Regions from separate parts of the Homo sapiens genome. Here regions 2, 3, 4, 5, 6 and 7 are each linked to region 1. Evidence: promoter capture Hi-C in 16 types of primary human blood cells and fetal thymus (Javierre and others, 2016). All regions are on one chromosome and are shown on one strand. Each heading gives the region's core, a stretch centred on a gene start or on the middle of the fragment in contact. The rest is flanking DNA. Distances are from core to core; before and after follow the strand shown.

Region 1 (4,299 bases), core at 726-3,225:
ATGCACACATGCTAGGGATACAGAGATGAACAAGATAAAACACCACCCATCAAGAAGCAAGTAGGTGTGGGAGGGAATAAGGTGTAATACAATGATACAGGTGATAAAAGCAAGGACAGTGCTAAGGTCAGGGTGGTGGAGGTTGTGGAACCTGTCCTACCAGTTGTCAGGAAAATTTCTGAAGAACAACTGCAGGATGGTGGTATTAATCCCTGAGACAAAGGTACTGAAGGCAAGTGGCTGAAGAACAGGCTTGATTGGACAGATGACTTGGAGATGTTCACTGGACAGGTGAATATATATGGATGAGGAGTTTGGGTGGCCGTGCTGACACGGGCGACATAAAGTTAGGAATGTATGGGTGGTGATAAGCCTTGAACAGAACAAGCCTGAGACAAGACTTCAAGAAATACAGTAGCTCGCCACCTAATCCCAGGTTTCCGTTACCCCTGGTCAACCCTGGTCCCAAAATAGGTGAGCACAGTACAGGAAGTTATCTTGAGAGGGAGACCACATGCATGCAACTTTTATTACAGTATACTGTTGTAATTGTTCTATTTTATTACTAGCTAGATTGTTGGTAATCGTTTACTGCACCTAATTTTTTGTGAGACAAGGTCTGGCTCTGTTGCCCAGGCTGGAGTGCAGTGGCATCATCTCGGCTCACTGCAACCTCCACCTCCCGGGTTCAAGCAATTTTCACGCCTCAGCCTCCCGAGTAGCCGGGATTACAGGCACATACCACCACGCCCGGCTAATTTTTGTATTTTTAGTAGGGACGGGGTTTTACTATGTTGGCCAGGCTGGTCTCCAACTACTGGCCTCAGGTGATCCGCCCGCCTCATCCTCCCAAAGTGCTGGGATTACAGGCATGAGCCACCACGCCCGGCCCTACTGTGCCTAATTTATAAACTTTCTCATAGATAGTATACACAAGAAAAAACAGTTATATTTAGGGTTCGGTACTGTCTGTGGTTTCAGGCATCCACTGGGGGTTTAGGAACGTACTGCCCGCGGATAATGGGGGAGGGGGACTATTGTATTGGCATTTAAATAAGTGGGCAGAGATAAAGGAGCTTGCAAAGAAGAAGGTGCAAACCTTGAAATAGTGTAGTCAGGAGAGCCAAGACGACTTCAGAATAGGGGAGCAGTCAAGAGAGCCAAGACGACTTCAGAATAGGGGAGCAGTCAAGAGAGCCAAGACGACTTCAGAATAGGGGAGTGGCCAAGAGATCTGGTAAGAACAAAGAATCCACCGGGAGGTTGCGGGTCAACTCTTAATCCCCTTCTCTCCCCATCTCTTGCCATTTAGAAAAGTATAGCATCCTCCTCTTTAGCCCTGCGACCAAATGCATTCACTCTTTCAAGGAGAAAGGAAAAGAACGTTACAGTGCATCTCCTGCAAACGCAAACGCTTTCTCCAAAACCGCTTTTAAATTCCAGGGACAGCCTTGTGAAGATCTTTGTGAATACCCGACCTCGCAAGCTCCAGAGACTACAATAATTCACTTGCCCTAGGTTCCAAAGCCAGCAAGTGGAAAACGGAGACTGGAATTCCGCCCACAGGACTCCAAAGCCTGTGCAGCAACACCCCACTCCCCCGGCAGGATCACCAGCAGGACGCGCGGGAGCCAGGAAGTAAGATCCGTACCTCCAAGGCTCCCATGGGCCCAAGCCTCCGCATCAACAGACTGGGAGGGATTACGTGGGGTCCCAGGGCCGGCTCTGAGGCGGGAAAACTTTCTGGAGGCGGCGGCCTCAGGCCGGAGCGGGCGCACACCGACTGGAGGGGTCGGATTCAGGGATGTGGGTGGACCGCATTTCCCCATCTTCCCCGCCGCGCACTTCCTCTGGTGCAATCTCCACACCCCGCGCCGGCCCGCCTGCAACGCGCCCTGGCACTCACCGGTGGGCGAAATTTCCCCGCCTCCACGTGAGAGCCAGCTCCGCCGTGACCCGGAAGTCCACTTCGAGTCGCCGGCCCACCCTCTCGGGTTCCGGCTTCTTCCGGGTCGCGGCCTTCCGGCGAACGCGGTTACCGTGGAAACCGCGGCCATGGCGGCACCGCGGCAAATCCCCAGCCACATAGTGCGCCTCAAGCCCAGCTGCTCTACAGACTCGTCGTTCACCCGGACGCCGGTGCCCACCGTGTCTCTCGCGTCCCGCGAGCTGCCTGTCTCGTCGTGGCAGGTCACCGAGCCGTCAAGCAAGAATCTGTGGGAGCAGATCTGCAAGGGTAGGAAACCTGGGCTGGCCGAGAGGGGCGGGACCCGGGCGGCCGGACGGGGGCCGCGTTTGGGGAGCGCCCACTGTGCGCCTGTCGGCTGACGGGCGGGGCCGCCGGGCAGCGGCTCCGCGGGCCCGGGCTCCGCATTTTACGCATGGGGAAACTGAGGCTCGGAGAGGCTGGCCCGAGGTTACGCAGCGCGGACTCCAATCGCGATCCGTAGTGAGGTTAAAGGCAAGGGAACGGCGAGGGAAAGCTGAATAAAGAGAACCATGCGGTGTGGACCATTGGTTCTTAAACCTCGGTTAGTGAACCGAAAGGAATTGCTGGGGCGGGGGCCGGGGTGGGGATCTTGTTATAAACGGAGGTTCCCAGGCCCCGCCCACAGAGCTTCAAATTGGGATGCAGGGAATCTGCACTTTTTAAAAGAGCACCCCAGGTAATCCTAACGTAGGTAGTCGGTGGCCCACACGTTCAGTAACCATGGTGTGGACAAACGGGTTTTAGTCCCTTCTTGCTTCAAACCTTCCTTAACCTCCCCAGGCGGAGTTGAGCACATCTTCCTTTGTGGCTCTACTCAGTATTTGTTACTTAGGTTGGGCAAATTATTTAACTTATGACCCTGTCTGCAAAGTGGGCATAATAATGGCACCTATTTCGATGGTGTTAAGAAGATGGAACCAGATAGTCACAAAAAGTGCTTAGCAAACTGCCTGATTTTAGGAGGGCAAAAGGATTATTGGGGAAAAAAAAACACAAACTGCTCGATTTACAGAAGGAGCTACGTAAGCGCTAGTTCTTAATGAATAATGTTGGGTGGGATGTTTTCTTTTTCCTCCACTAGACCATAAGCTCCTCAAGGTCAAGGACTCAGATTTTTCATTCGTGTGGCCACCATCACTACCTAAGCTGCCTGAAACAGCGCGGTGAAACCCCGTCTCTACTGAAAATACAAAAAAAAAATTATCTGGGCGTGGTGGTGTGCGCCTATAATCTCAGCTACTTGGGAGGCTGAGGAAAGGGAATTGCTTGAACCAGGGAGGTGGCGTTGCAGTGAGCCGAGTTTGCGCCACTGCACTCCAGCCTGGGTGACAGAGCGAGACTCCATCCCCAAAAAAAAAAAAGTGTGGTTAGTTAGCATTTGAAATGTGATTAGTGCAATTGAGTAACTGAATTTCTTGTTGGACTCAAATTTTTTTTTTTTTTTTTTTTTTGAGACGGCATGTTGCTCTGTCGCCCAGGCTGGAATGCAGTGGCACTGGCTGGGCTCACTGCAACCTCCGCCTCCCGGGTTCAAGCATTCTCACACCTCAATCTCCTGAGTAGCTGGGATTACAGGCACCCGTCATCATTCCTGGCTAATTTTTTTATTTTTGTAGAGAAGGGGTTTCACCATTTTGGCCAGGCTGCTCTTGAACTCCTGACCTCAGGTGATCTACCTGCCTCGGCCTCCCAAAGTGCTACAATTACAGGCCTGAGCCACCAGGCCCAGCCCAGACTTAATTTTAATAAATTTAAATAGCCACATTTGGATAGTGGCTGCTGTATTGGATAGTGCAGGTCAGTAAATGTTTATTGAATGGAAAAAAAGAATGAATGTACCAGTATATGCGATGACTCGAAAGAAGTGGAGAATACAGAGAAGGAAGAGAATAGTAGACTCAGTTGATAGATGCCCTCCAAAGCTGTCTGTTTCAACCCCATCCAGTACTTAAATTCCTTCTCCAACCTTACATTGTGCTAGAAAAATCCCTTTCATTTTGCATGTTCTCTTTGTCACTTTCACCCCTACGTCCTTACCTCTTGGTGCTATGATCCAAGGAGCTAATCACTCTACCCCAAAGAATCTACTCAGATAATTTGACGGTAGTTATTGTGGCTGCCTTTTCCCCAGAGCTTTCACTTCTCCAAGCCAAACAGTTTCTTATAATACAGTTTACTAGAGGATTGTTAGAAAAGTTACTCAGCCTCATCTGTAAGAGACAGATAATTGTTGTGCCTACCTCACAGGGCTGTTGTGGGGACCAAGTAAGATAATGTATGAAAAGGTGCTTAGCACAGTGCCTGGCATT
Region 2 (4,299 bases), core at 884-3,383, 210 kb before region 1:
AGGTAAAAATGCAGTGACCAACTATTGCATTTGTGTGAGTCACCTGATTCCCCAGGGCCTGGGCTAGCACAAAGGGTATTTTGATATCCCTGTATGAGGCCCCTGGCAGTTTCTGAACCCGTTTCGTCCCACCGTGAAAGTCTAGAAGTGAGGTTCGCAGTCTTCTACCATGCTGTCAGTGATATAGCTGGAACCAAGATGGGATTCGTAGTAACTCTTTTCATCAAAGGTATTAACAGTCCAACCAACAACCTGGATTCCTTTAGCTGACCACTTCTTCAAGTAGGCCCTGGGGAAAGAGGAAAGCCAATCCTGTTAGAATAATAAGCAGCTGTCTCAGGAATCCATAATGGCCACTAAGTATGGTGTTCACTGCATACCAATGGTGCCCAGAGAATGCCTCCTAACTGGCCTCTGCACTGTGATCAGAGGGACTGTTCCAAAACCCAGGATGCCATGAACCTCCTCTACACTGTCCCAGCTTAAAACATTTCAGTAGCTCACTAATGATCGCCACCCCCAAATGTCCTTGGCACAGCCACTGAAGGTGTGCCTGACCTGGCCCCGACCTGTCTCCTTGGCTTCATCTCACACCACATTCCCCCTTTCTTTTCTGTGCTGATTAATTTTAAATTAATTGAAAGAATATTAATTTTCTTTCACTTCCTGGAAAGAACCATGTTCCTTCCTGCCAGAGCACATTACATGTATTTTTCTCTCTGATCTGGATTCCTCCCAATTCCCACTCACCCTTCAGATCTTAGCTTAACTGTCACTTCCTTGGGGATGCTGTTTCTGACAACCCAGACCAGATTAGATTATAGCCCATGCACAGTTTTCTCTGACATAGCCTGTATCTTAGTTTTAACTTTATATTGATTGGATTTTTATTTGATTAGCATCTCTCACTCTCCCACTTGGCTATAAACGTCACGAGGGCAGAGATCATGGCTTTGATTCTTTACCCACTGCATCTTCAGCTTCTCAACATGGAACCTTGCAATAGTATAGGCACTTACCAAATATTTATTGAACTGAATCATGTATGTCTGAAATAATACTAGACCTACAACTCTAATTAGCTGAAATATACAGATACAGAATTGCCAAAGAAATGATTCCGAGATCGCTAGCAGGTTAGGAAATGGAAATTTTATGGGGAGAGGTGGGGGAGTGCCTATAACATAAGACGGTAGTGGGGAGGCTGGTGCCCACAGGATGTCTTCACTGTGGTTCTGCCCAGGATCCTGTGTTGGCTTTCAAAAAAACCAGTCACAGAAATAAAATCCCTTGCTCAGCATAGTGTCACAGGTTCATTTTTTTTCTTCAAAATACACTAAAAAACCGAAAATATGTGATCGACTCGGTCTGAAAACAGTGAAATATGCCTGAACTCTTCCCACCTAAGAAGCGAAATTGGTAATCCAATTTAGAGGTATGGTAAGCTTTGCAGGTCAGAACCAATTCAGGTTGTCTACTCTGTTAATCCTTCCTTTCAAATAAGAGCATTCAGGATGTCTGTCTGGGTAAAATAAAAAACCTTCCAACTTACGGGGATACAAAATCCTTTTGCATGAGGAAAGCTGAAATTCCACACAGGTACCACAAGATATTATGCATGCTCCAATCGAGCAAAATGTCCATCATAACAAATATAAAATGTTTCCAGAAAGTATCATAGCGTGGTTTCCCATCTCCTGTATGGCTTAGGCTCCAAGGTCTGTGAGTTAATGCTGTTATTACATCCCGATCTGTTTGTCTCATCTGCAAAGGAATTTGGGGAAGTAAAATAATGATCATATGTAAAGTTGAATACTTATTAGTTTAGATTTAGCCAATGTGCTCAATCAGATGAGGTGGTCATGGTTGGTACCCTGCCCCGGTATCTACTAAATAAGTTCTCAATCATAAACCCTTTGAGAAAATAATGTGAAGAATGTAAAGCACTAATATGCAGCACATATGAGAACTTTTTTTTCCCAGTCCTTAAAAACTGCAATCCTATCTTTAAAATGGAAAAATTAAAACTTCAGGATCAAATTTTAATAATGTCATGAGAATAAACTTTTAATTGGCTATTGACTTAAATCCTGGCCAGAGATAATTAATTAGAACTCAATGAGGAGGGAACCAAGGTCAGTTCAAGATGGGCTGTTTAGTTTTGACCCTTTCCAGAGCAAATGGCTGAAGAGTTGTAGGGGTGAGGAGGGGGATGGGGAAGTGAGGTGGGAAGGGAGAGAAGGGATTGTGACGAGAGAATGGGAGAGGACAACAGAGAAATGGAGAGATGTGGATGGAGTTCCTTTAGTCTCTGCTCTTGTGCTCCTCTGGGGGAATGTCTTATACGTTTTAAAGGACTCTGTGGTCAAGGAAGTTTGGGAAACACTGTTCCAAATGTCTGCAAGCCCCATGACCCTATTCAACTCCATGACAGCTTCTATTGATAGGCTCTATCCTCACTGTAAAAATTTTCAATGTATGCTCTGTTGGTCACTGGTAAAGAATGCTACGGAACCAGCTTGTTATTCTGGAAACTGGTAAATAAAAGGAAAGATAAAGCATTTATTCTGCCTATTTGGTAACTAAATAGTAGAGGAGGAAAAGTTTCTTTTTAAAGATCTATTTCAGCTAATGCAAGAAGTAATAGAATTAAAATATCAGCATTTTGTAGCTCCCTAGAAAATGGACAGATCTGGCCAATGAGCATCAATAGCAGCCAAAAACAACAGGAGTCAACCAGATGTCAAGTGCCTCCTGACGGAAAAACACCCTCATCTCTAGAGTTATCTTGCCAAGAATAACCAACCCTAACCTCATCAAGGCAAGCTTCCAGCTCTCGCTACCAGTTTATAGAAAATAAAGAGAAAAAAATATTAAGCCATATCATGGCATAATCAGCAAAATTTGGACTTGGGTAAACTCTACAAAACAATAATCCGGTTTCTTCAGTAAATACAAAACAAGGACCCCCCCCAAAACAAACAAACAAAAAAAACAGAGAGAGAGAGAGACAGAACCTGCAAGTTTTAAGATTTACAGTTGCCGGCAGGGCATAGTGGCTCACACCTGTAATCATTTTGGGAGGCCGAGGCAGGCAGATCACCTGAGGTCAGGAGCTCGAGACCAGCCTGGCCAACATGGCAAAACCCCGTCTCTACTAAAATACAAAAAAAATTAGCCAGGCATGGTGGTGTGTGCTTGTAATCCCAGCTACTCAGGAGGCTGAGGCAAGAGAATTGCTTGAACCCGGGAGGCAGAGGTTGCGATGAGCCGAGATCATACCACTGGGCGACAGAGCAAGACTCCGTCTCAAAAACAAACAAAAAAAGATTTACGATTGTAACACGCCGATCTTACTTGGGTCCTATTCGAATGAGCAATTTATGAAAAACAACCATTTATGACATTTCCGAGACAAGTCAAAATTTATACACTGGATATTTGATGATATGAATAATTTATTGTTAATAATTTTTAGATGGGACAATGGCATTGTGGCTATGTTTTTAAAAAGGCATCACTAGGCTGGTTACTGTGGCTCATGCCTGTAATCCCAGCACTTTGAGAGGCTGAGGTGGAAGGATTGCTTGAGCTTAGGAGTTGGAGAACTGCCTGGGTAATACAGGGAGACCCTGTCTCTACAAAAAATAAAAATAAAAAATTAGCTGGGCGTGGTGACGTGCGCCTGTGGTCCCAGCTACTTGGAAGGCTGAGGCAGGAGGATCATTTGAGCCTGGAAGGTCAAGAGTGCAGTGAGCTGTGATCACACCACTGCACTCCAGCCTGGGAAACTGAGGGAGAACCCGTCTTTTAAAATAAATAAATAAATAAATAAATAAATAAATAAATAAATAAAATGGCATCACTTTTTAAAGATTCTTAATGCAATTTTATGGATGGAATAAGATTTGCTTCAAAATAACACTGGGGAGGATCAATGGGGTTATGGGTGAAATGAGCTGGATCACAGTTAAAGGGGGGGTACACTACTACTTTATTTTATGCATGTTTTAGATTCTCCATAATTAAGAATTTATTTTATGAAGGTATGTTCTGCTGTTAGTTGGTGAGAAGTAGGGGCTACATAATTCTTTTCTGTTGTGAGAATTTTACTACAGTAATCTGAGTGAGCCTATAAACAACATAAAAGAAGGGGCAAAAGAGGAATAATGGCATTCTGTAAGGGGTATGAGTACATTCCCCTTCTGGAATTTCTCTGGTTAATTTAAAAGAGGAGCTTCTCAACTGTGACCCTGATGCAGTTCAATTTAATAGGCATCTATCCTGTGCTTACGCAGC
Region 3 (4,299 bases), core at 1,157-3,656, 170 kb after region 1:
GAGGCTGAGGTGGGAGGGTTGTTTGAGTCTAGGAGGTTGAGGCTGCAGTGAGCTGTGATCACACCACTGCATTCCAGCCTGAGTGACAGAGCAAGACCTTGTCAAAAAAAAAAAAAAAAAAAAAGAAAGAAAGAAAGAAAGAAAAGAAAAGAAAAGAAAAAAGAAAAGAAAATTCATTCACAGTGGCAAAGTGCTCTTCAGTTGTTTCTGGGAGTCCCCAATGGGGTGTCCCCATAGACATCCACAAACCAGTGTGTCAGTTGCAGTCAAAATGTGACTGCCACCCTCTCTTCCTACAGGTTCTTGTCTGTGAGTACGCAAGATTGCTTGGAGTAGCCTCATCATGGCCCCATTGGTCCCCTGCAAGGCTGCCATGGGGACACTCTCCCAAAGCCCCCAAAGCTGTCAGGAAACATTTAAGCAGCAGGACAATTGTTACGGCCTACACAATAGGGATGTTTGTTATCACACAACAATAAGTCGGGATGTGAGTGATCTCACAGTTGGTCCATTGCTCAACAATGTAAACAGGGGCCCAGTGTCTTTCTAGTAGTCTTCTGATCAGCTGTCCTCTGCTTGGGACCTCATGGTCACAAGATAGCTGCCATGGCACCAAACATCACATCTTCACTTGACAATCTCCAGTATGGGAAAGAAGCTGTCCAGGGAAGAGAGCTCTTCTTGTGAGTCTCCCTGTTAATCAGAAAGAAAATCATTCCTAGAACTGCCCTACTTCTCACCCCAGGTGCAGAATTACCCTTATATTTCCTTGGTCAGAACTGAATCACCTCGCTTCCCCTAGTACAAAGGAGGCTGAGAAGTGAGCTCTTGGCACCAAGAGACTCAGTAAAGAAGGAGGGTGAGGGAAAGGTGCTTGAGGCAGGAAACCTCAGTGTCTGCCCCAAGTGACCTTCCTGAGAGTTGAAGGAGCAGGGGCTTGAGCTGGTGGCACACATGTCCACTGCCCTACCCAGCCACCTGTAAGGGTAGCTTCTGAGCTTCTGAGTCACCACTATCTCAGGGGGATCAAACCCAATCCCAGGGCCAGATAGAAAGTGTGTGGCCCCTTTCCCTTCTCCCCTCCCCTCCTTTTCTCCTGACGCAAATCTGTCACAGAAGCAGCTCTCTATCTTCATAGAAGGTTTCTGCTTTACCCTTTGGGAGGCCGAGGTGGGCAGATAGCCTGAGGTCAGGAGTTCGAGACCAGCGTGGCCAACATGGTGAAACCCTGTCTCTACTACAAATACAAAAAAATTAGCTGGGCATGGTGTCACATGCCTGTAATCCCAGCTACAATGGAGGCTGAGGCAGGAGAATCGCTTGAACCTGAGAGGCAGAGGTTGCAGTGAGCCGAGATCACGCCACTGCGCTCCAGCCTCGGCAACAGAGTGAGACTCGGTCTAAAACAACAACAACAAAAAAAGGTTTCTGCTTTGTCATTTCACTACTAGAAGTTCCCTTGCTGTGTCCCCAAAACAAAGGAACTGTCTGTCCCCCCCAAAGACAAACTCAAGCCTCTACCCCTATGTAAAACAAAGAATGATTTGAATGGTTGCAATTCTAGGTTATTTATTTATAGGCGTCTATGAACTTCCTGGTGGAGGTTTAAGAAATGTTGGACCATTTATCTTTACTCGGTTATGAAGCTTAGAGTGATGTGGGATCCACTTTAAGAGAAAGGGTGGAGGCAGGGCCTGGATGTGCCAGCCCCAGAGCCCAGGCTGTAACCACTGCCCCATCCTGCTGTTTTACCCCCGGGCAGGAATCCTCTGATCAGCTTCACTTTCTCTTAGTTTTTCCTTATGACACTGTGATGTACTTCCAAATCACCAGGCTCTTGTCCACATGAACACTCTGGTTCAGAGGGTGGGAGAGGATTCGTACCCCCAAAAGCTCCCAGCTGGGCTGTCAGACCCAGGACCTCACTCTCAGTGGCAAGACCTTGGCCCAGTTCTTCTCAGTCCTGGCTGCTCATGAGAATCACCTGAGTCAAAAAAAAAAAAAAAAAAAAAAAAATTAGGTGCCTGGGTCCTCTCCTGGACCAATTCAATTAAGTGAGAATCACTGGGTCTGGAGGCTGAAGCAGGCTCAGACCATTGCTAAACAGGGTGGGAGGAGATGTCAGAAACACTGAGGATAGAATCTCCGGGTGGCCATGTCATCTTAGAGAAATCACTTAGTTTTTCTGCATCTTGGTTTCTGCATCTGTGAGATGAAGGGCTCTTAATAGTCTCCACCTGTTAGAGCTGAGTGAGACGCAACCAACTGGACTCAGCCAGTGCCCGGGAGGGGTCAGGTGTTGTGGTTTTAATTTAAAAGGGCTTGAAGGAGATTTGGATCAAGAAAGCAAACCTGATCTCCAGTTACTCGTTATTCCTTTGGTGAGTACGAATGCGGTGAAAACATGAAAATATGCCTGTTTCTTTCTACTCTCTTTCCTCAATGTACCAAGTGGTTCTTGAAGTGTTGTCCAGAGAACCTCTCTGGAGGTCTGCAGGATCAAAACTGTTTGCATAATAGCACTAAGACCTTATTTTCCGCTTTTACCGTCATTCTCTCACGAGTGTACAGTGGAGTTTCCCAGTGGCTTTTGGAGATGTGATGTTGCAACAGGCCGATGGCGGGAGCAGGCGTGACAGTCCCGCTGTCCTCTATTAAGTCAGATATTTCGGAGGTTCTCAAAAATGTAAACTATTGCTGTGCTTCTCACTAATTTTCACGCACGTCCATGTGAAAGACCACCAAACAGGCTTTGTGTGAGCAGTAAAACTTTTTAATCACCTGGGTGTAGGCGGGCTGAGTCCGAAAAGAGTCAGTGAAGGGAGATAGGGGTGGGGCCATTTTATAGGGTTTGGGTAGGTAAAGGAAAATTAGTCAAAGGGGGTTGTTCTTTGGCAGGCAGGGGCGGGGGTCACAAGGTGGCCAGGAGAAGGAATTTCACAAGGTTAATCGCTCAGTTAAGGTGGGGCAGGAACAAATCACAATGGTAGAATGTCATCAGTTAAGGCAGGAACCGGCCATTTTCACTTCTTTTGTGATTCTTTACTTGCTTCAGGCCATCTGGACATATAGGTGCAGGTCGCAGGGGATACAGTGGATTAGCTTGGGCTCAGAGGCCTGACACTAATGGCTTTTTCCTTTAGAAAATACAGTTATTCTTCATAAAAAAGCTTTTATGTTAACATGTAATAGGTTTATTGTATGAATATTTTTAAATTTCCTTGGCTTTAATTTGAAATAGGGTGAATATTGGTAGGTATTTACTCGGTACTTACCTACTAATATTACCTCCTCCAAGTCCTTTAATTTTATTTATTTATTTAGTTTTTTGAGATGGACTCTCACTGGGTCACCCAGGCTGGAGGGCAGTGGCGTGATCTCAGCTCACTGCAAACTCCACCTCCTCTCAGGTTCAAGTGATTCTTGTGCCTCAGCCTCCTGAGTAGTTAGGATTACAGGTGTGCACCACCACACCTGGCTAATTTTTTGTATTTTTAGTACAGACTGAGTTTCACCATGTTGGCCAGGTTGGTCTTGAACTTCTGACCTCAAGCAATCCACTGGTCTTGGCCTCCTAAAGTGCTGGGATTACAGGTGTGAGTCACCATGCCTGGCCTCCAAGTCCTTTTAAATAAGAACAATAGCTCTTAATCTCTACTGGGCACTGACTCTGTCTGAAGCGGGATATAAAGTATTGGCATATACCTAAACAGAAGCTCTTTGGGGGTCTTCCACCAATTTATCAGTTTGAAGAGTGTGAAAGTGTCCCAAGACCATGAAGATTGAAAACCACCACTCAAGGAACAATTATTTAGAACCATCTCTCCAAAAGAGTACAAAAGAGTAACAAACAGTTATATAGCATTTACAGTTTGCCAGGCACTGTTCTTTTTTTGTTTTTTTTTGAGATGGAGTCTTGCGTTGTCACCCAGGCTGGAGTGCAGTGGCGCAATCTCAGCTCACTGCAACCTCTGCCTCCCAGGTTCAAGTGATTCTTCTGCCTCAGCCTCCCGAGTAGCTGGGACTACAGGTGCATGCCACTATGCTTGGCTAATTTTTGTGTTTTTAGTAGAGATGTGGTGTCACCATATTGGCCAGGCTGGTCTCGAACTCCTGACCTTGTGATCTGCCCACCTCGGCCTCCCGAAGTGTTGAGATTACAGACATGAGCCACCATGCCCGGCCCAGGCACTGTTCTAAACACTTTGTATACACACACACGCATACAAATAAACTTTCTGATTCTCATGACAATCCTATAATGTGTACTATATCCCCATTTTACAGAAGTGCAAATCG
Region 4 (4,299 bases), core at 958-3,457, 180 kb before region 1:
TTTCGTGCCTCAGCCTCCAGAGTAGCTGGGATTACAGGTGCTTACCACCTGGCCCAGCTAATTTTTATATTTTTAGTAGAGATGTGGTTTTGCCATGTTGGCCAGGCTGCTCTCAAGCTCCTGGCCTCAAGCGATCCACCCGCCTCAGCCTCCCAAAGTGCTGGAATTACAGGCATGAGCCACCGCACCCAGCCCCAAACAGTCTTGCCTGAAACATCACTTACAGTTTTAATTCACTGTATTGCTATGAGGTCTTTCTTTTGGACTATAGTTTCTAATGTTTATTTCAGTTTGCTTTTTCATTTGTAGTATGAGCTTCGTGTAATTGGTCCTTCAGTAAACACTTTAACATCAAATTATTAGACAAAGTATCAGAAATAAGGCTCTGAGTAGGTGGTTCAAGAACGGTTCTTTAGGCCGGCGCGGTTGCTTACGCCTGTAATCCCAGCACTTTGGGAGGCCGAGGTGGGTGGATCACTTGAGGTCAGGAGTTCGAGACCAAACTGACAAACATGGCGAAACCCCGTCTCTACTAAAAATACAAAAATTAGCTGGGCGTAGTGGTGCACATCTTTAATCCCAGCTACTTGGGAGGCTGAGGCAGGAGAATTGGATGAACCCAGGAGGCGGAGGTTGCAGTGAGCCGAGATTGCACCATTGCACTCCAGCCTGGGTGACAGAGCCAGATTCCATCTCAAAAAAAAAAAATAATAATAATAAAGGTTCTTAATTAATAAAAATTATTATTTCAGTTTTTTCTGTTGTATCCATTAACAGCAATTTATTAAAGCACGTTTTTCTCCTTCATTACCCCTTACTTTGTTGTCATTGTTGATAATTCTTTATTACTGATATAGAAGACATACAAATCAAGTAAGTTAAGCTCTTAGGGCTTATGGGAAATACAGGGTTGGGTCAGACTGCTTAAAACCTGTGCAACTTTTTTTTTTTTTAATTTTTTTTTTTTGAGACAGGGTCTTGCTCCGTCACCCAGGCTAGATTGCTGTGGTGCGATCTCAGTTCACTGTAGGCCTGGGTTCAAGCGATTCTCCTGCCTCAGCCTTCCAAGTAGCTGAGATTTACAGGCATGCGCCACCACGCCCAGCTGTTATATTTTTTGTGGAGACAGGGTTTCACCATGTTGGCCAGGCTGGTCTCGAACTCCTAGGCTCAGGTGATCAGCCCTCCTTGGCCTCCCAAAGTGCTGGGATTACAGGTTTGAGCCACCAGCCCTGGCCCATCCTGTGCAACTTTATAAGAGCTCTAATAAAAACAACCACTGTTACCTGGGGAGCCAACTTGGATCCTCCAAGTAGATAGCATAGCAAGGCAAGAGGCTGCCTCAGTGAATATCAGAAGTACATAAGACCAACAGAGTGGAAATTTCTTTTTTTTTTTTTTGAGATGGAGTTTCACTCTTGTTGCCCAGGCTGGAGTGCAATGGTGCGATCTCAGCTCACTGCAACCTCCGCCTCCCAGGTTCAAGCGATTCTCCTGCTTCAGCCTCCCAAGTAGCTGAGATTACAGGCATGCGCTTGTATTTTTTCAGTAGAGATTCGGTTTCACCATGTTGGTCATGCTGGTCTCGAACTCCTGACCTCAAGTGATCCACCTGCCTTGGCCTCCCAAAGTACTGGGATTACAGACGTGAGCCACCACACCTGGCCCATACTTGGTATTTGTACATTTCAACATGTCTTACCACATTCTATTTAGGAAGCTTGTATTGTCATAATGTTTTCTCTTAGTTAGTAACTAAATATCTGGAATTTTAACGTCCAGTCCTTTTTGAAACCTCAAGCTGAGAAAGCTTTATACCATCAAGGAAACACTTTCTTTGAAAATCAAAACAAGGCAAAACTACAAGCTACACTACCAGAGATCCTGGAGGACAAGTGTCAAAAAAACAAATGATGGTAGGATGCAGTTGAGGACCACATCTGAAAGTTAAGTAGAGTCAGGAGAATCTTGTCTGAATATATAGTCCTGGGTCTGTCATTTCAGATCAGGATGGGATCTGTTGAATGAGTGGGTAAAGGTGATGCAATACAGGTCTTACTTTATTGAGTAGCATGAAATAAAAGGAGTGTGGTTCGAAGTAGAGACCCAGCTATATCTTGATTGTATTATGTCAGATCCAGGAATACTCTCTTGTCAGAAGGATAATTTAAATTGATGGTATAAAATATCAGACATTAGACTTGTGAATTTTCTAAATTGAGGAAACATGTTTCTTTTCAGAAAGCGAGGAGTTACTAAAAAGCAAGATGTTAGCTTTTGAAGAAATGCGGAAGAGACTAGAAGAACAGCACGCCCAGCAATTATCACTACTCATAGCTGAGCAGGAAAGGGAACAAGAAAGACTGCAAAAGGTGAGGAATGTGGAGGGAGATACAACTGGTAAGTGAAATTTAGCCAAGGATACCTATGAATTTTGGTCATGTATAGAATACGTGTAATTTTTGCCTCCATATATCTTAAGGTAAGGGAGTCATTTTGATACGTGAATGGTATTTTTTGTCAAAATATGAATTTTGATATTTAGATCCTTATCTAAAAGTAATTGCATAATTTATCGAGAATATTTTATTGAATCCTTGATTTAAAGCTTAATATTTTAAAAAGGTATTTTATAAATAGGTGCTAAAGTACACATTCTGCAGGAGTTGTATCATAAAAATGACACTCATGCTGGGCGTGGTATCATGAGCCTGTAGTCCCAGCTATGCAGGAGGCTGAGGTGGGAGGATTGCTTGAGCCCAGAAATTCAAGGCTGCAGTGAGCTATGATTTCGCCTTTGTCTAGCCACTGCACTCCAGCCTGGGCAACAGAGGGAGACCCTGTCTCTATAAAAAGAAAAAAAAAAAGAACGACACTTGTTATAATATTATTATAATTAATAATTTAACTATACATTATCACATATTAAATTATAGCCTGGGCGTGGTGGCTCACGCCTGTAATCCCAGCACTTTGGGAGGCCGAGGTGGATGGATCACCTGAGGTCAGGAGTTTGAGACCAGCCTGGCCAACATATAGTGAAATCCCATCTCTACTAAAAAATACAAAATGGTGGTGTATGGACCTGTAGTCCCAGCTACTTGGGAAACTGAGGCAGGAGAATCACTTGAACCCGCAAGGTGGAGATTGCAGTGAACCGAGATCGTGCCACTGCACTCCAGCCTGGGGGACAGAGCGAGATTCTGTTTCTTGAAACAAGAAAGAGAGAGAGAGGAGAGAGAGAGAGAGAGAGAGAGAGAGAGAGAGAAAGGAAGGAAGGAAAGAAAAGAAAAGAGGGAGGGAGGGAAGGGAAGGGAAGGGAGAAGGAAGGAAGGATAATTTGAGGAAGAAAAACTTGAAATAAATAATAATTGCTGATAATTACATGTACTTTTGGCTAAGCCTAAAATGATATCATTTTGGGACATAATTAAAAGGTTTAGCATGTTACAATAAACTGTTCATGTATAGGAAATAGAAGAGCAGGAGAAAATGTTAAAAGAGAAGAAGGCAATGACAGCGGAAGCCTCTGAGTTGGACATTAACAATGCAGTGGAATTAGAATGGAGAAAAATAAGTGACTCTAGTTTGCTGGAAACAATGCTGTCTCAAGCGGACTCACTCCATACTTCAAATTCAAATAGTTCTGGTAAATATTTAAAAATCCTTTTACATTTGGGAAAGTGATCCTACGGTAAGATATTTATTTGGCACACTATAAGATTATATCTCCTGTTTTCAAATGATTCCATGTCCAACCCTCTTTGCCAGCTGCTTAGTAACCAGTGAAAAATGACATGATAGGAGATCAAAGACTTGTGAGCAGATGTTTGTGAACAAAGATTACCTTTGCCAGGAAAAGATCAGGAAATTTGGCTTAGAGCCCAGTCTGATCATTCATGCAGCAGGTGATATACTTCAAGTGAAAACAGTTTGCTCTCTCCTGAGTGATCTTGAATTACCTCTAATTCCCTAGTCCCTTTAAATAGCTTATCTTCATATCTCAATTATCCTGAGATGCTGTTTGTGTTGAAAAGATCCACCTGGTATGTAAGCTTTAAAGTCCATAAATATTTTAAGTCGGCAGGTAGGTCATTTTTGGAGGCAGTTGTTATTCTTAATGAGTGTCACAAGTGTTTATTGGGATGTTCTTCGTATTCTAATTATATGACATCAAGTATAATACTATATGTATGTTTCTCTAGGTTTCACAAATTCTGCCATGCAATATAGCTTTGTTTCTGCAAACGAAGCACCATTCTACCTCTGGGGATCATCAACTAGTGGCTTGACCAAACT
Region 5 (4,299 bases), core at 683-3,182, 150 kb before region 1:
TACAGGCGTAAGCCACTGTGCCCGGCCTGTGTTTCATATATTATTTACCATTGTTACATAAATGGAACTGCTGTTTTGTGACTTGTTTTTTTGGAGATAGTCTTGCTCTTTTGCCTAGGCTGGACTGCAGTGGCATGATCATAGCTCGCTGCAGCCTTAAAGTCCTGGGCTCGAACAATCCCCCTGCCTCAGCCTCTCGAGCAGCTGGGACTTCAGGTGTGTGCCACCGCACTCAGCTAATTTTGGATTTTTTGGTAGAGTTGGGGTCTCACTGTGTTGCCAAAGCTGGTCTCAAACTCCTGGGCACAAGCAATCCTCCTGCCTTGGCCTACCAGAGTTGCTGGGATTACAGGCCTGAGCCACTGCACCCCACAACTTTTTTTTTTAATTTATTTTATTTTATTTTATTTTATTTTTTTGAGACGGAGTCTCATTCTGTTGCCCAGGCTGGAGTGCAGTGGCGCGATCTTGGCTCACTGTGACCTCTGTCTCCTGGGTTCAAGTGATTCTCCTGCCTCAGCCTACCTAGTAGCTGGGATTACAGGCATGTGCCACCACACCTGGCTAATTTTTGTATTTTTTGTAGAGACAAGGTTTCGTCACATTGGCCAGGCTGGTCTCGAACTCCTAACCTCAGGTGATCTGCCCACATTGGCCTCCCAAAGTGCTGGGATTACAAGTTTGAGCCATGCCGCCCAGCCAACTTTTTTTTTTTTTTTAACTTGACCATATGTCTTGGAGAACTATCCATGTTAGTACATTTAGAACAACCTTATTATTTTGACCAGCCGTATGGTATTCTAAAGACTGGATTTACCTATTTTAATTTACCATTCCTCTACTGATGTATCCATCAGATGGAGGATATCCCAGATAGTTTCTGGGTTTTGCTGGTACAAACAGCAGTGCAGCATGTGTCTCGAACACACACACATCTTGGTGCATGTCTGCAAGGATTTCTGCAGGATAGCTTCCTAGAAGTTCTTTGCTGGTTGGCCAGGCGCAGTGGGTCACGCCTGTAATCCCAGCACTTTGGAAGGCTGAGGCGGGCGGATCATGAGGTCAGGAATTCGAGACCAGCCGGACCAACGTGGTGAAACACCATCTCTACTAAAAATACAAAAATTAGCCAGGTGTGGTGGCGGGCACCTGTAATCCCAGCTACTCGGGAGGCTGAGACAGGAGAATCACTTGAACCTGGGATGCGGAGATTGCAGTGAGTAGAGATCACGTCACTGCACTCCAGCCTGGGCAACAGAGCGAGACTCCATCTCTTTGCTGGCATAAGGCAATGTGTATTTAAGGTTTTGATGGCTATCACCAAATTGTCCTCCAAAAAGAGTTAACCAGTCTGCATTTCCACCAGTGATGTTGAAGAGGGTCTGTTTCCCTGCATCCTTGCCAGCCTGACATCAGCCAGCATTTTAACTCTTTGACATTCTGATAGTTGAAAAAGTGGTCTTTTCCAACTATCCTTTCCTTAATTCTTAATGAGTTTGAGCATTTTTTGATATGTTTATTGTCCATTTATGATGAAATGGTCTGAATTTTTTTTTTGAGATGGAGTCTTGCTCTGTCACTCAGACTGGAGTGCAGTGGTACAATCTTGGCTTACTGCAACCTCTGCCTTCCAGGTTCAAGCGATTGTCCTGCCTCAGCCTCCTGAGTAGCTGGGACTACAGGCATGCACCTGGCTAATTTTTGTATTTTTAGTAGAGATGGGGTTTTACCATGTTGGCTAGGCTGGTGTTAAACCCCCGCCCTTAAGTGATCCGTCCACCTTGGCCTCCCAAAGTGCTGGGATTACAGGCGTGAGGCACCATGCCTGGCGCTGTAATTTTTTTTATGATAGTAAACCTTGAGACAAATCTCTTTTATTCCACAGTAAAGGACTATCTGGCTTCTATTTATATATGTATATATTTAAAGATCAAAATGATATTGCTGCTGAAGAGATTATCTTGCCTTTCTTTAGGACAGCTCCAGAAGGAAACGTGATAGAGATGATAACTCCGTTGTAGGATCGGATTTTGAGCCTTGGACCAACAAACGGGGAGAAATCCTTGCCCGGTACACCACTACCGAAAAGCTGTCTATTGTGAGTACCAGGAGACCCTCTCCAGAGTCTACTTTGGAGTTAGTAGTAATTTCTTTTTGTTATGTTGCTTCAACTCCTGGGCTCTGTAAGTTTCACTTATTTATTTATTTTTCTACTTCTCTTAAAAGCTCACATATAAGGCTTCATGTAGTATGTCAGTGTTGTTGGCAGAAAAATGTGCTGACAGGTTTCCCAAAAAAAAATGTTAAGGATCAGGGATGTGGCACAGGCCAGAGAAAGAATTAGAACAGCAGAGTCTTGTCTTTGGGAGGAGGTTTGAATTATGAAGGGAGGAGGTCGGGCACGGTGGCTCACGCCTGTTATCCCAGCACTTTGGGAGGCCAAGGTGGGCAGATCACTTGAGGTCAGGAGTTCGAGACCAGCCTGGCCAACATAGTGAAACCCCATCTCTACTAAAAAAATTAGCCAGGCGTGGTGGCGGGCACCTGTAATCCTAGCTACTCAGGAGGTTGAGGCATGAGAATTGCTTGAACCCGGGAAGTGGAGGTTACATTGCGCAGAGATCACGCCACTGCACTCCAGCCTTGGTGACAGAGTGAGACCCTATCTCAAAAAAAATTAATTAATTAATTAATTTAAAAAATGAATTAAGGGAGGAGAGCACAACACTGGAGGAGAAAGGTGTCACTCAGTAAGTCCCATATAGCTGGGTTTTCCCCTGGAGCTGGAAATTTACTATTTCTCTGGATGGCCATTAGGTGAAGTAGTTGGCTTTGGCCTCAAGACACTTACGAAATTCGAGGCTTACCCTTCACTTGGCAAATTGCTGTGGAAGGAAAGACTCAGGAGAGCTGAGACCAACCCAGTCAGGTTAATGCCTGTGTGAGTTAGGACTGGGTTCAGTTGCTTAGAACTAAAGCCCCTGCTAACATTGTAAACAAGAGTGACCTGTATCCCTCCTTACGCTGGAGAAAAGTCTCGAGGAGAGGAGTCCAGGGCTGGTTTGGCAGCTCCGAGGGCATCAGGGTTCCGCCGCATTCTTTCTTGCTCCTCGGCTGTGTTGAGTGTTGCCTCACATTCATGTTGGTAGACAGAGGGAGGAAAGGGAAAGAAAGATGCGCCCCCTCCCATTTAGGAAGACTTCTTGGGGTCCCGCAACACTTTTAGTTACATTTGTCTTGAAGGTGTGATCATGGGCCACGCATAGATGCAGGGAGGCTGAGAAATGTAGCAGCGTGTCCATCTACAAATGGGGCTGTGCCCTGGAGGAAACAGTGAACTTGGCAGGCCATGGGGAACGCTTGGCCTCAACGCCTCTTCTCTTCATTTTTTCCTCCCAGGGTGTGTACTCATTGAACAGAATGATAGGCAGAATTGCTGGACTATTTAAATTGAGTCTTTTTTTTTTTTAACTGTACAGAGTTAACTTAGAGCAGTGATTCTCAACCAGGAGTAATTTTTACCCCTGGGTCATCATTTGGCAATATCTAGAGACATTTTTGACTGTCACAGTTCTGGGGGTGGTACTGACATTTATTGGGTGGAGGCCAGAGATGGGGCTAAACATCCAACGGTGCACAGAATTAATCTCCCACAAAAAGTTATCTGGCCTCAAATGGCAGTAGTGTAGAGGGTGATAAACCCTGATTCAGAGTAGGTTAAAAATAGTTCTATTATGTGACTCCGCTGTCATATCAAAAATTTTAGTATTTGTCTGCTGACTTTGAGAACCCTGACTTGAGTAGAAATTTGAATCTCCAGTGGTTTTTAGTGACTGTATTTTTCTTCTTTGAATATATATTTCTTTCTCTTGGGTATGTAAATGGCTCTGTTGGAAAACAATGAACATACTGCCTTCGATTTTTAAAATATTAATGAATTTTATGTCTCTGCAGAATCTGTTTATGGGATCTGAAAAAGGTAAGATGAGTTTGTTGTTGTTTTGATGGGAAAATTCTGGCATTACTTTTAGTATAATTTTACAAAGGAAAAAAGTTTTATGTGATATGATTCTGATGTTTGATTCAGTTGGAGCTGCTATTTCTTAGATTGTGGATAGACGTAGAAATAAAATACATATTTAGAGCATGAATTAAAAAAATACCAAATACCAGCACTTTGGGAGGCCAAGGTGGGTGGATCATCTGAGGTCAGGAAGTTTGGTACCAGCCTGGCCAACATGGTGAAATCTCGTCTCTATTAAAAATACAAAAATTTGCTGGGCGTGGTGGCGCACGCCC
Region 6 (4,299 bases), core at 627-3,126, 140 kb after region 1:
TTACAATGAGAGATTTTGATCACAGATGCTCTCCTCCCGGGTCGTTTTCCCCAAACGAGTCTTGTTTACACACGCAGATCTTAAACAGAGGTGCCATTTAATTTTGTCTTTAAACCTTGCTCCACGGGGGGCAGCTGGCTGCTACAGTCTCTTGGCAAAGATGTCTCTTGATACTTTTCAGGTGTAGTCATTAGAAAAAGAACAGCTCTCTCCCTTCTCCTCTCACTCCCGCCTCCGCCCCCATTATGAAGGCGTTCAGCCCACTCTCAACCTTAAAAGCCAAAATAAAACAAAACCCTAAGTGCGATAACATATCAGATTTAAAAGGGGGGAAAAAGGTCTCATTAAATGAGGCTTCCCATGGCTCAAAGATGGCTCTGTTCTTATGCTGGGGAAGCACGACTTTCCATGGCAGCCATTTGTGCTGTGCTCACCTTATATGCTTGGACAATAAAGAACTTAGAAAACGAACGTGTGAATTGCTCCATCGTGTGAATGGTATCAGAAAGCTCCAAAGGACTCCAGAGAGCGGGGGTGAGTAACCATTTCCTGGCACGAGAATGTGTAATGCTGTCGTTTTTTCACCGGACAGGACCGAGGTGTTTGAAGATTTCTTTCTTTTCAGAATACCGGGTCCGCATGCAACCGCCCCCACCCCCACCCCAGGTCCTAGCTTCATTCCCTCCCACCCCTCCCCAGGACTCTTACGTTTTCTGTCCACGCAATGACTGGAACGGGATTCTCTAGAAGCAAGCACATGCTCTGGGCAGAGGCGGGGTGCTTCCGGGGAGGTCAGGTGGGGGTGGCATTCTGGGGCCATGCGTTTTCTTCCCCATGCGTGGTAACACAAGGAAATGTACTAACTGTTAAGGAAAACTCGAAGGCGGGTCACACAGGGAGGGCCAGATTGGCCTTACTTTCCCCAGTGCTTTGCAAGGATGGGGTGGGGAGGGGAGACAGCAGAGACTAGGGCCTTGAGAAATATCAAAAGGTTTATTGAAACATACTCAGCTCAGACGTACTGGCTTATGAAGCGGTCAGTCCTCCCCCGGCCCCCAAACACTAACCTTTTTCATTTTTCTTTAAAGGTTAAAGGCTTATGGGTAGTTTTATAGAAAAAGCAATGTAGTGATTAGAGTATCTGCAGAAGGACCCACCCTCATTTATACATTCCATGCCGTCAGGTTAAAACTCTGCTTTGAATCGATGCTAGAGGTTATGCTGGCCAAACAGTGCAGAGAACATGGGGGCTTTGAATGGCCGAGATGTTCGAAATGCTAAATAACAAAGGAATGACTTGCTCAGGACAGATGGAAACCATGACAGAAACAATGGGCTTGGAAAAGGGCTGTTTTCATGGAACCTGCAGAAAAACCAAAACAAAATATCCCCCACACCCTCCAAAAGCAACAAGAAACCCTCATGTGATCCATTCCATCCAGGAATTTTCACCATAGCAACGGAAAGGACCCGAGGTGTCACTGCTTGTGAGGCAGCGAGAGGTCATCTCTGCATCCTAGTGGGAACCCCTGAAGCCCTGCTAGGTGACATCATCGCGGAAAACCTGCCGTGGTGCCTGCCTTCCAACCTGCCTCCCGGAGGGGCTTTCAGCTGGAGACCCCATTGGAGCTCTTGAAATGAATAAGGGAATAAAATTGGGAGAGGATTTGGAGATACACCCGTAAGTGTAGGAACAGGGCGAGATGATCAAGGGAAGAAGGGACTGCTGCCCCAAGCCAGAATATTTCTATGGCTCTACAAGGGAAGGGGCGGGGCCTGTGTTCTCACCATAGACACTAGAGCAAGAGCCCCATAGAAGGAACAGTGGTTGATCACTTTCCAAATGTGATGGTCACTTCATCACCCAGAGGGCCTCTTCTTTGGCACATGCCAGGGTCCCTCCACCTCTACTGGCTATAAAGCTCACCCCACGATTCAGTTGGGCCTCACCTTGGAATCCCACCCACAACCTCCTTAACTCTCCTGACCCCCCTGAAATGTGCAAACCACCAGGCAAGCCGGTGGCAAAGTCCCCATTTGTCCTCAACGCAACGGTCATCTCCAAGAGGCTACCTGGGGTCCAGCACTTGCTGGGGAGAGGTGATAAGAGTGGGAGCCCCCCACCTCCAACCAACACCAGTCTGGCCCACCAGCTGTGAATTTGGTTCTGTTCTACCCCCAGAGGATGAAACAGTCTTCCCAGCCACATTTTCCAGTGAGCCTAATACTATTTGCAATTAGCTTTGCTTTAGTTTGCGGGGATTGAGGTTGGTCTGGTATTACGTGTCTGTGTGTGTGGCAGGGGAGGGGCGGGCAGTCGGTGTTAGCTTTTCAGTTCGTCAGTGTTCACATTTACACGAAATCCCCTTGGCTAGGATTTCCAAATTTCCTGGCTGTGAGGCGGCCTGGTTCGGCAACTGTTACCGATTTCTCCCTCAAGAAAGACACAGCCAGGGAGGCAAATCGGTAAGAGAAATTCTGATTCTCTGGAACTTAAAGTCTTTCACCAAAGGTGTCTTCCTGTGTGACTTGGCGGAGCAGTTGGGATCTGGAATAACACATAAGGATAACACACTGAGAACTCTGTGCTTTGCAAAGTCAACACTAGAAACCGATGCGTAAACAACGCGGCAAAAATAAGTTACCTTGCTTTTACCTAGATGGGTCGAATAATTCCCAGGAGAGGCAGCAATGACTGTGAGTCATGCTGCTGTGGTTCTTGGGAAGCCCAGCTCCCTTTTCTATAACCATCCACCCGTAAGGAATGTAAGTTCAACTCATTCACTTTCAGTCTTGACTATTTTTTCACACACTGGCCTTGAAGGAACCAGGAGGGCTTAAGAGTGACGGATGGGGGCTTTTCTAAGCATATTTATTATAACACACAGGCCGAATGCTTGTGAATCAGGCTTTTCTTGGCTCGGGACAATAAAACAGCCCAGTCGTTGGCAGGGGGTTTTAAGAATGCAAATCTGTGATTCTGTCTTTGAGCCTGTTCCAAACCAATGCAAACCAATGCCTAGCATACCATTCAAAAGGCCAGGAAAACCTAAATTCCCTCTAGAGATCAAAGACCATCCCTGATTTACATAAAAAAAAAAAAAAAAAGAAGAATGCTCAGGTTGAGTTATGGAGTTGGAACATGATATAAAGAATGGAAACCCAATTTACACATGTAAACTGGCTCAGACCTTGTTTCTGAAAGAAGCATGTAGCTATGTTTGGAAATTAAATGTGGAGATGAGAGTGCATCTTTGGATTGCTGGAGAAACAAAATGGTGTCATTCCAAGGAGGCAAACGTAAACAATGACAATTCTGCTGAAGGTCTGTTTGGCATCAGATAGTAGTAAACCTGCTTCTGTGTTTGAGGGAGAGAAACAGTAACTGCTTCAATTTCTTAAGACATCTCTTAGGGAATGGGAGAACCTGGTACCCAGCTGGGGAGGAGTCAACAGAGGGGTGACCGGGGACCTTAAACTAGGCTGGATGTCAGCAAAATCTGCTAGGGGCGCTCCATCATTCTGGGCTTTTTCCAAAAGTCACCTCCCAGGGACAGAGTGAAAGCCAAATAATTCACTGGGTCCAACAGCCTCAAGGATTACAAACTCTTTCAAACGAATCTACAGATGGTTTTCTAAATAGAGGTGGGTATTCTGTGTGTGGAGAAAAGGGGTAGAAAGGGAAAGAAGAAAAATAAAAGCATTGCATGCGTTTGAGCTGTGGCGGTCCTTGCAGGCCACATGGGCAGCCTCCATGGAGGAGTATGTCCCTGTTGAAGCTGCTCCCCGACACCGTAGACTCCTAGGCTTCCTACCCCCACATCACATCTTGATACTTACGGTCCCACCGTTGAGCACGACGGCCATCTCAGTTGGCTGATACACGTTGCTTCTAAACGGAGCGCTGGGTCTTTTCCCCAAGCTGCCACTGGGTCTTTTTCCCAAGCTGCCGTTGGGAAATCCTGCTGTTCGGAGAGCTGGGGGAGGGAGGGATTGGCAAGACAACATTGCCAAAAAAAAGACACAATTTTGTTTTCTTCCCCTGCAACAACAGCGCGCTCCGGGCACCCCCATCCACCCAACCCAGTGGCTCCTCCCCTTTGTCACAAGCCTGATTCAAAACAAAAGTCACAAAGGGGCTTTGTTCTCAGGCTCTCTAGGAGCCTGACCCATCTCAGTGGGTTTGGGAAAAGCTGCTGTAGAGACCAGGGGAAGGAGGCCCATGGTTGGGCCTCTGGTTCCCCCTCCAAGCCACGCAGCCTCTGCAGGCCGCGGGTGACAGGCGCCTTCTCACTACAG
Region 7 (4,299 bases), core at 794-3,293, 130 kb before region 1:
CATGAGAACTGTCTGACAGGAACAGCAAGGGGGAAGTCTGCCCTCATGGTTCAGTTACCTCCCACCAGCCCTTTCCTCCAACACTGGGGATTACAATTCGACATGAGATTTGGGTGGGAACACAGAGCCAAACCATGTTAACTATGTTTTTCTCTACTGAGATCTTGGCACTTTTGTTAAAAATCAATTGACCAAGGCTGGGCGTGGTGGCTCATGCCTGTAATCCCAGCACTTTGGGAGGCTGAGGTGGGCGGATCAGCTGAGGTCGGGAGTTTAAGACCAGCCTGACCAACATGGAGAAACCCTGTCTCTACTAAAAATACAGAATTAGCTGTGTGTGGTGGTGCATGCCTGAAATCCCAGCTACTTGATACTCAAGGTTGAGGCAGGAGAATCACTTGAACCCAGGAGGCGGAGGTTGCGGTGAGCCAAGATCGTGCCATTGCACTCCAGCCTGGGCAACAAGAGTGAAACTCCGTCTCAAAAAAAAAAAAAAAAATTAATTGACCACTGGTGGCAAATTCAGACTACTTAAAAAACAAAAAAACAAAAATCAATCGACCATAAATGTAAGAGTTTATTTCTGGACTCTCACTGTCATTCTGTTGATCCATAAGTCAATCCTTATGCCAGTTCCACATTGTCTTTTTTTTTTTTTTTTTTTTGAGACACAGTCTTGCTCTGTCACCAAGGCTGGAGTGCAGTGGCGTGATCTCTGCTCACTGCAACCTCTGCCTCTCAGGTTCAAGCGATTTTCATACCTCAGCCTCCCCAGTAGCTGGGATTATAGGTGTGCACCACCACACCTAGCTAATTTTTGTATTTTTAGTAGAGGTGGGGTTTCACCATGTTGGCCAGGGTGGTCTCGAACTCCTGACCTCGAGTGATCCACCCACCTCGGCCTCCCAAAGTGCTGGGATTAAAGGCATGAGCCACTGCGCCTGGCCAGTTCCACATTGTTTTGATTACTATGGCATTATAGCAAGTTTGAAACTGGGTAATATAAGTATGTATGTATGTATGTATGTATGTATGTATTTATTTATTGAGACAGAGTCTTGCTCTGTTGTCCAGGCTGGAGTGCAGTGGCATCATCTTGGCTCGGCTCACTGAAACCTTCACCTCCCAGATTCAAGCGATTCTCCCACCTCAGCCTCCCGAGTAGCTTGGATTACGGGCATCTGCCACCATGCCCGGCTGATTTTTGTATTTTTAGTAGAGATGGGGTTTCACCGTGTTGGCCAGGCTGGTCTCAATTCAAACTCCTGACCTCAGGTGATCCACCCACCTTGCCCCCCGCAAAGTGCTGGGATTAAGGCATGAGCCACCACGCCTGGCCTGGGTGGTGTAAGTCTTTTAACTTTTTTTTTCTTCTTCTTTTTTTAAATTATTTTCACTGTTCTGGGCCCTTTGCATTTCTGTATGAATTTTAGGATCAGCTTGTCAATTTTTACAAAATAAAAAAAACCTTCTGGGATTCTGACAGGTATTGCATTGAGTATGAAATCATTTTCTGATGCATAAATTTTGCCATCTGTTGATGAGCATCTGGCTCTGTTCTTTTTTCACTACATGGACAATGTCACTGTGAGCACGTTTGGTCACGTCTGCTGGTGCCCATGTAAAGCTTTTCTCTAGATAAGAGCCTATACCTAAGAGTAGAACTGCTCTGTGCCTCTTCAGCTTTTCCAGATAATGCTAAGTTATTTTCCATAGTAGCTGTGCCAGCATACGCTTGTAGTAGTATGTGGGCGTGTGAGAGTCTGTGCTATTCAACATTCTACCACCATTTGGTATGAGCAGATTTTCTATTTTAATTTTTCCAGTCATATTTTCTTGTGGTTTTAATTTGCAGTTCCTCGATTACTAATAAAAATGAGCATCTTTTCACATATTTATAGGCCTTTGGGGTTTCCTTTTCTGTAAAATGACCTTTGCTGATTTCTTTTGCCCATTTTTCCATTTTGTTATCTGTGTTTTTCGTACTGAGTTTTGCAATTTTTAAGATGTATTCTGGATAGTAATGGTCTACTTCTTTCCTTCCTACTCAGGTCATCTTTGAATGTATGCATTTGTTGTGGCTATTCAAATTTTTTTAACCTTTTTTCTGAGACAGATTCTTGCTCTGTCTTCCAGACTGGAGTGCAGTGGGGCGGTCTCGGCTCACTGCAACTTCTGCTTCCCTCGCTCAAGTGATTCTCCCACCTCAGCCTCCTGAGTAGTTAGGGCTACAGGCACACACCACCATGCCTGGATAATTTTTGTATTTTTTGTAGAAACTGGGGTCTCACTACATTGCCCAAGCTGGTCTTAAACTCCTGGGCCCAGGCGATCTTCCTGCCTCAGCCTCCCAAAGTGCTGGGATTACAGGCATGAGCCACCATGCCCAGCTGGGATTTGTATTGTTAACACATACCTGGGTTACCTGATTCTTATCAGACAAGTTTAGGAAGCGGCACCAAAGCTTTAAAAACTGTGGCATCTTCAAAACAGTAATTTAAAAAGTAACTTCAATTTATAAGATCATTATAGCTTTAACTTTGGATTAAAAACAAAATCTTATTCCTGTTGTCCTTTATAAAATATATGTTCTATGAAACCAGCTTGGGAGAAAATCAATGCACAGATGTTTGGGAAGCCCCAGCTGTGTTTAATTTGAAATCCTCTGTTTAAATTCTCTCTCTCTCACCTCACCAGTGGGCAGTAACTCATCTCTGAGAGACTGTCCAAGCCCAGCTCTGGGTAGAACTCAGAGATGTCACATCCCTAGGAACCGAGAACTGTGTATTGTAAACAGTCTCTGAGATTTGGAGTTGTTAGCTTTTTCCAGCCTTGAAATCTCATGGGGGCAGCTGTTTAAGTTGGAACTCTCACAAAGGGCATATGAAAATCGCAGAGCGAGGTGTCAGGAAATGGAATTCCACATACATCCAGTTGCCACGTTTGGTGTCAGCACTATTGTTTTTACAGCTTACATTCCCGCCCCGCCCCCCCCCCCCCCCCCACAAATAACATTTGGGCTGTAAGGGGATGTTTCGCAAATCAGACACGTTGTTTACTTTTAGGCCTGTAATGCTATGGAGAAACTTGGTGACTCTAACAATTTAGATGTTGGGTAACAACACCAAACTGAAAACACATGTCAACCTATCTCTTGACATGGTGAACGTTCTCACCATTCTCTGCATATTGGAATTGCATATTAAATAATCCTTTCTAAATGTCTGAACATCTTTTTTTTAATTTTTAAATGACATTTTTCTTTCTGAGGGTCAACCATTGAGGTGATGAAGTGTGGCAGTTATTTAATTCCTTATGCTGACTTTTGAATTTGTAAAGTCTTCAGGGCATGGCATTAAATTTAGTTCTTCAAAGTAGAAAGAGCTTTTCTGTTTCTGATGATAAAAGATAATCAAAGGTGTTTGGGGCCACATTGTGTGACTGCGGTCTTCCATTAAAAGTCCTGAACGCTAAATAGCAGACGAGTACTCAAAAAAAGAGTTCTGAACATGTTGGCCGGGTGCAGTGGCTCATACCTGTATTTCCAGCACTTTGGGAGGCTGAGGTGGGAGGATTGCTTGAGGTCAGGAGTTCAAGACCAGCCTGAGCAACATAGTGAGAACCTGCCTCTACATAAAATTAAAGAAAAAAAATTAGCCAACCATGGTGGTACATACCTGTAGTCCCAGCTACTCGGGAGGCTGAGGCAGGAGGATTGCTTGAGCCCAGGAGTTCATTGCTGCAGTAAGCTATGATTGCACCAATGCACTCCAGCCCGAGCGACAGAGCAAGACCTTATCTCTAATAAAATAATAATAAAATTTAAAAAAATTAAATAGTCCTGAACATGGCTGTGACCCTTTGGCATGAATGAGAATGTAGAATTCAGCAATTCCCCGCAAAGCTGAAATGTTTTCAGCATTGAAGGTCATATTTCCAGAGTAACATGTATTCACTGAAGCTTATGTTCCTTTTGGGGGGAATTTGGGACTGAGTATAAATAATCAGTGTGAGTTTATGAAGCCTTGGGGATTTACTTATGGGGTCATTTCTTAGAAAAGAATGTTTAAGGATGCTGATCACCCTGAAATCAACAGAAGAAGCCAGTCTGCAAAGCAATTGAACAAAGATGGGGCCACAGATGAGGACTGTGATGAGAGAGATGTCATTCACTTCTCTCAGTGATTTTGAGTGCTTCCTGGTTCAGTATACAAGCAGGATCCTTTTGGATAAGGCTTTCCTGAAGAAGGTGATAGTGTATTTTCTTAAGAGACTGTTATGGGCCGGGTGCGGTGGCTC

The links. Contacts are between HindIII fragments. The CHiCAGO score rates a contact against its expected background, and 5 or more counts as called.
Region 2: a contact is called between a fragment that was not itself captured here and the fragment with the promoter of KNOP1 in region 1, in 1 of 17 cell types (total CD8 T cells). The highest score is 6.6, in total CD8 T cells.
Region 3: a contact is called between a fragment that was not itself captured here and the fragment with the promoter of KNOP1 in region 1, in 3 of 17 cell types (activated CD4 T cells, naive CD4 T cells and total CD4 T cells). The highest score is 5.8, in activated CD4 T cells.
Region 4: a contact is called between a fragment that was not itself captured here and the fragment with the promoter of KNOP1 in region 1, in 1 of 17 cell types (fetal thymus). The highest score is 6.0, in fetal thymus.
Region 5: a fragment that was not itself captured here is called in contact with the fragment with the promoter of KNOP1 in region 1 in 1 of 17 cell types (naive CD8 T cells); the score reaches 7.4 in naive CD8 T cells.
Region 6: a fragment that was not itself captured here is called in contact with the fragment with the promoter of KNOP1 in region 1 in 3 of 17 cell types (endothelial precursors, naive CD4 T cells and total CD4 T cells); the score reaches 9.6 in endothelial precursors.
Region 7: a fragment that was not itself captured here is called in contact with the fragment with the promoter of KNOP1 in region 1 in 3 of 17 cell types (total CD8 T cells, naive CD4 T cells and activated CD4 T cells); the score reaches 5.5 in total CD8 T cells.

The regions. Positions count from the first base shown.
Region 1 is chr16:19,716,252-19,720,550 of GRCh38, forward strand. KNOP1 (lysine rich nucleolar protein 1) reads right to left here and starts at 1,976. Exons shown (of 5, transcript NM_001012991.3): 1 at 1,907-1,976. It overlaps IQCK (IQ motif containing K), which reads left to right and starts at 2,020. Exons shown (of 9, transcript NM_153208.3): 1 at 2,020-2,236. The coding sequence starts at 2,056. RefSeq lists an enhancer at 1,900-2,229. The HindIII fragment of the contact is 12,693 bases long and covers 1-4,299 here.
Region 2 is chr16:19,503,329-19,507,627 of GRCh38, forward strand. GDE1 (glycerophosphodiester phosphodiesterase 1) reads right to left here. Exons shown (of 6, transcript NM_016641.4): 5 at 1,553-1,764; 6 at 1-289. The coding sequence ends at 142. Among named protein-coding and RNA genes, the nearest start is that of GDE1, 17 kb to the right of the region's middle. The HindIII fragment of the contact is 1,381 bases long and covers 1,444-2,824 here.
Region 3 is chr16:19,890,495-19,894,793 of GRCh38, forward strand. No RefSeq gene overlaps it. Among named protein-coding and RNA genes, the nearest start is that of GPRC5B, 7.8 kb to the left of the region's middle. The HindIII fragment of the contact is 1,524 bases long and covers 1,645-3,168 here.
Region 4 is chr16:19,538,416-19,542,714 of GRCh38, forward strand. It overlaps CCP110 (centriolar coiled-coil protein 110), which reads left to right. Exons shown (of 14, transcript NM_001323572.2): 5 at 2,242-2,372; 6 at 3,472-3,649; 7 at 4,206-4,299. Among named protein-coding and RNA genes, the nearest start is that of VPS35L, 15 kb to the right of the region's middle. The HindIII fragment of the contact is 798 bases long and covers 1,809-2,606 here.
Region 5 is chr16:19,571,144-19,575,442 of GRCh38, forward strand. It overlaps VPS35L (VPS35 endosomal protein sorting factor like), which reads left to right. Exons shown (of 31, transcript NM_020314.7): 4 at 1,976-2,098; 5 at 3,955-3,979. Among named protein-coding and RNA genes, the nearest start is that of VPS35L, 18 kb to the left of the region's middle. The HindIII fragment of the contact is 6,290 bases long and covers 1-4,299 here.
Region 6 is chr16:19,857,997-19,862,295 of GRCh38, forward strand. GPRC5B (G protein-coupled receptor class C group 5 member B) reads right to left here. Exons shown (of 4, transcript NM_016235.3): 3 at 3,841-3,977; 4 at 1-2,548. The coding sequence ends at 2,504. It overlaps IQCK (IQ motif containing K), which reads left to right. Exons shown (of 9, transcript NM_153208.3): 9 at 1-471. Among named protein-coding and RNA genes, the nearest start is that of GPRC5B, 25 kb to the right of the region's middle. RefSeq lists enhancers at 190-1,389, 2,663-3,244, 3,825-4,299. The HindIII fragment of the contact is 6,338 bases long and covers 1-4,299 here.
Region 7 is chr16:19,587,153-19,591,451 of GRCh38, forward strand. All of the region lies in intron 7 of VPS35L (VPS35 endosomal protein sorting factor like), which reads left to right. Among named protein-coding and RNA genes, the nearest start is that of VPS35L, 34 kb to the left of the region's middle. The HindIII fragment of the contact is 837 bases long and covers 1,626-2,462 here.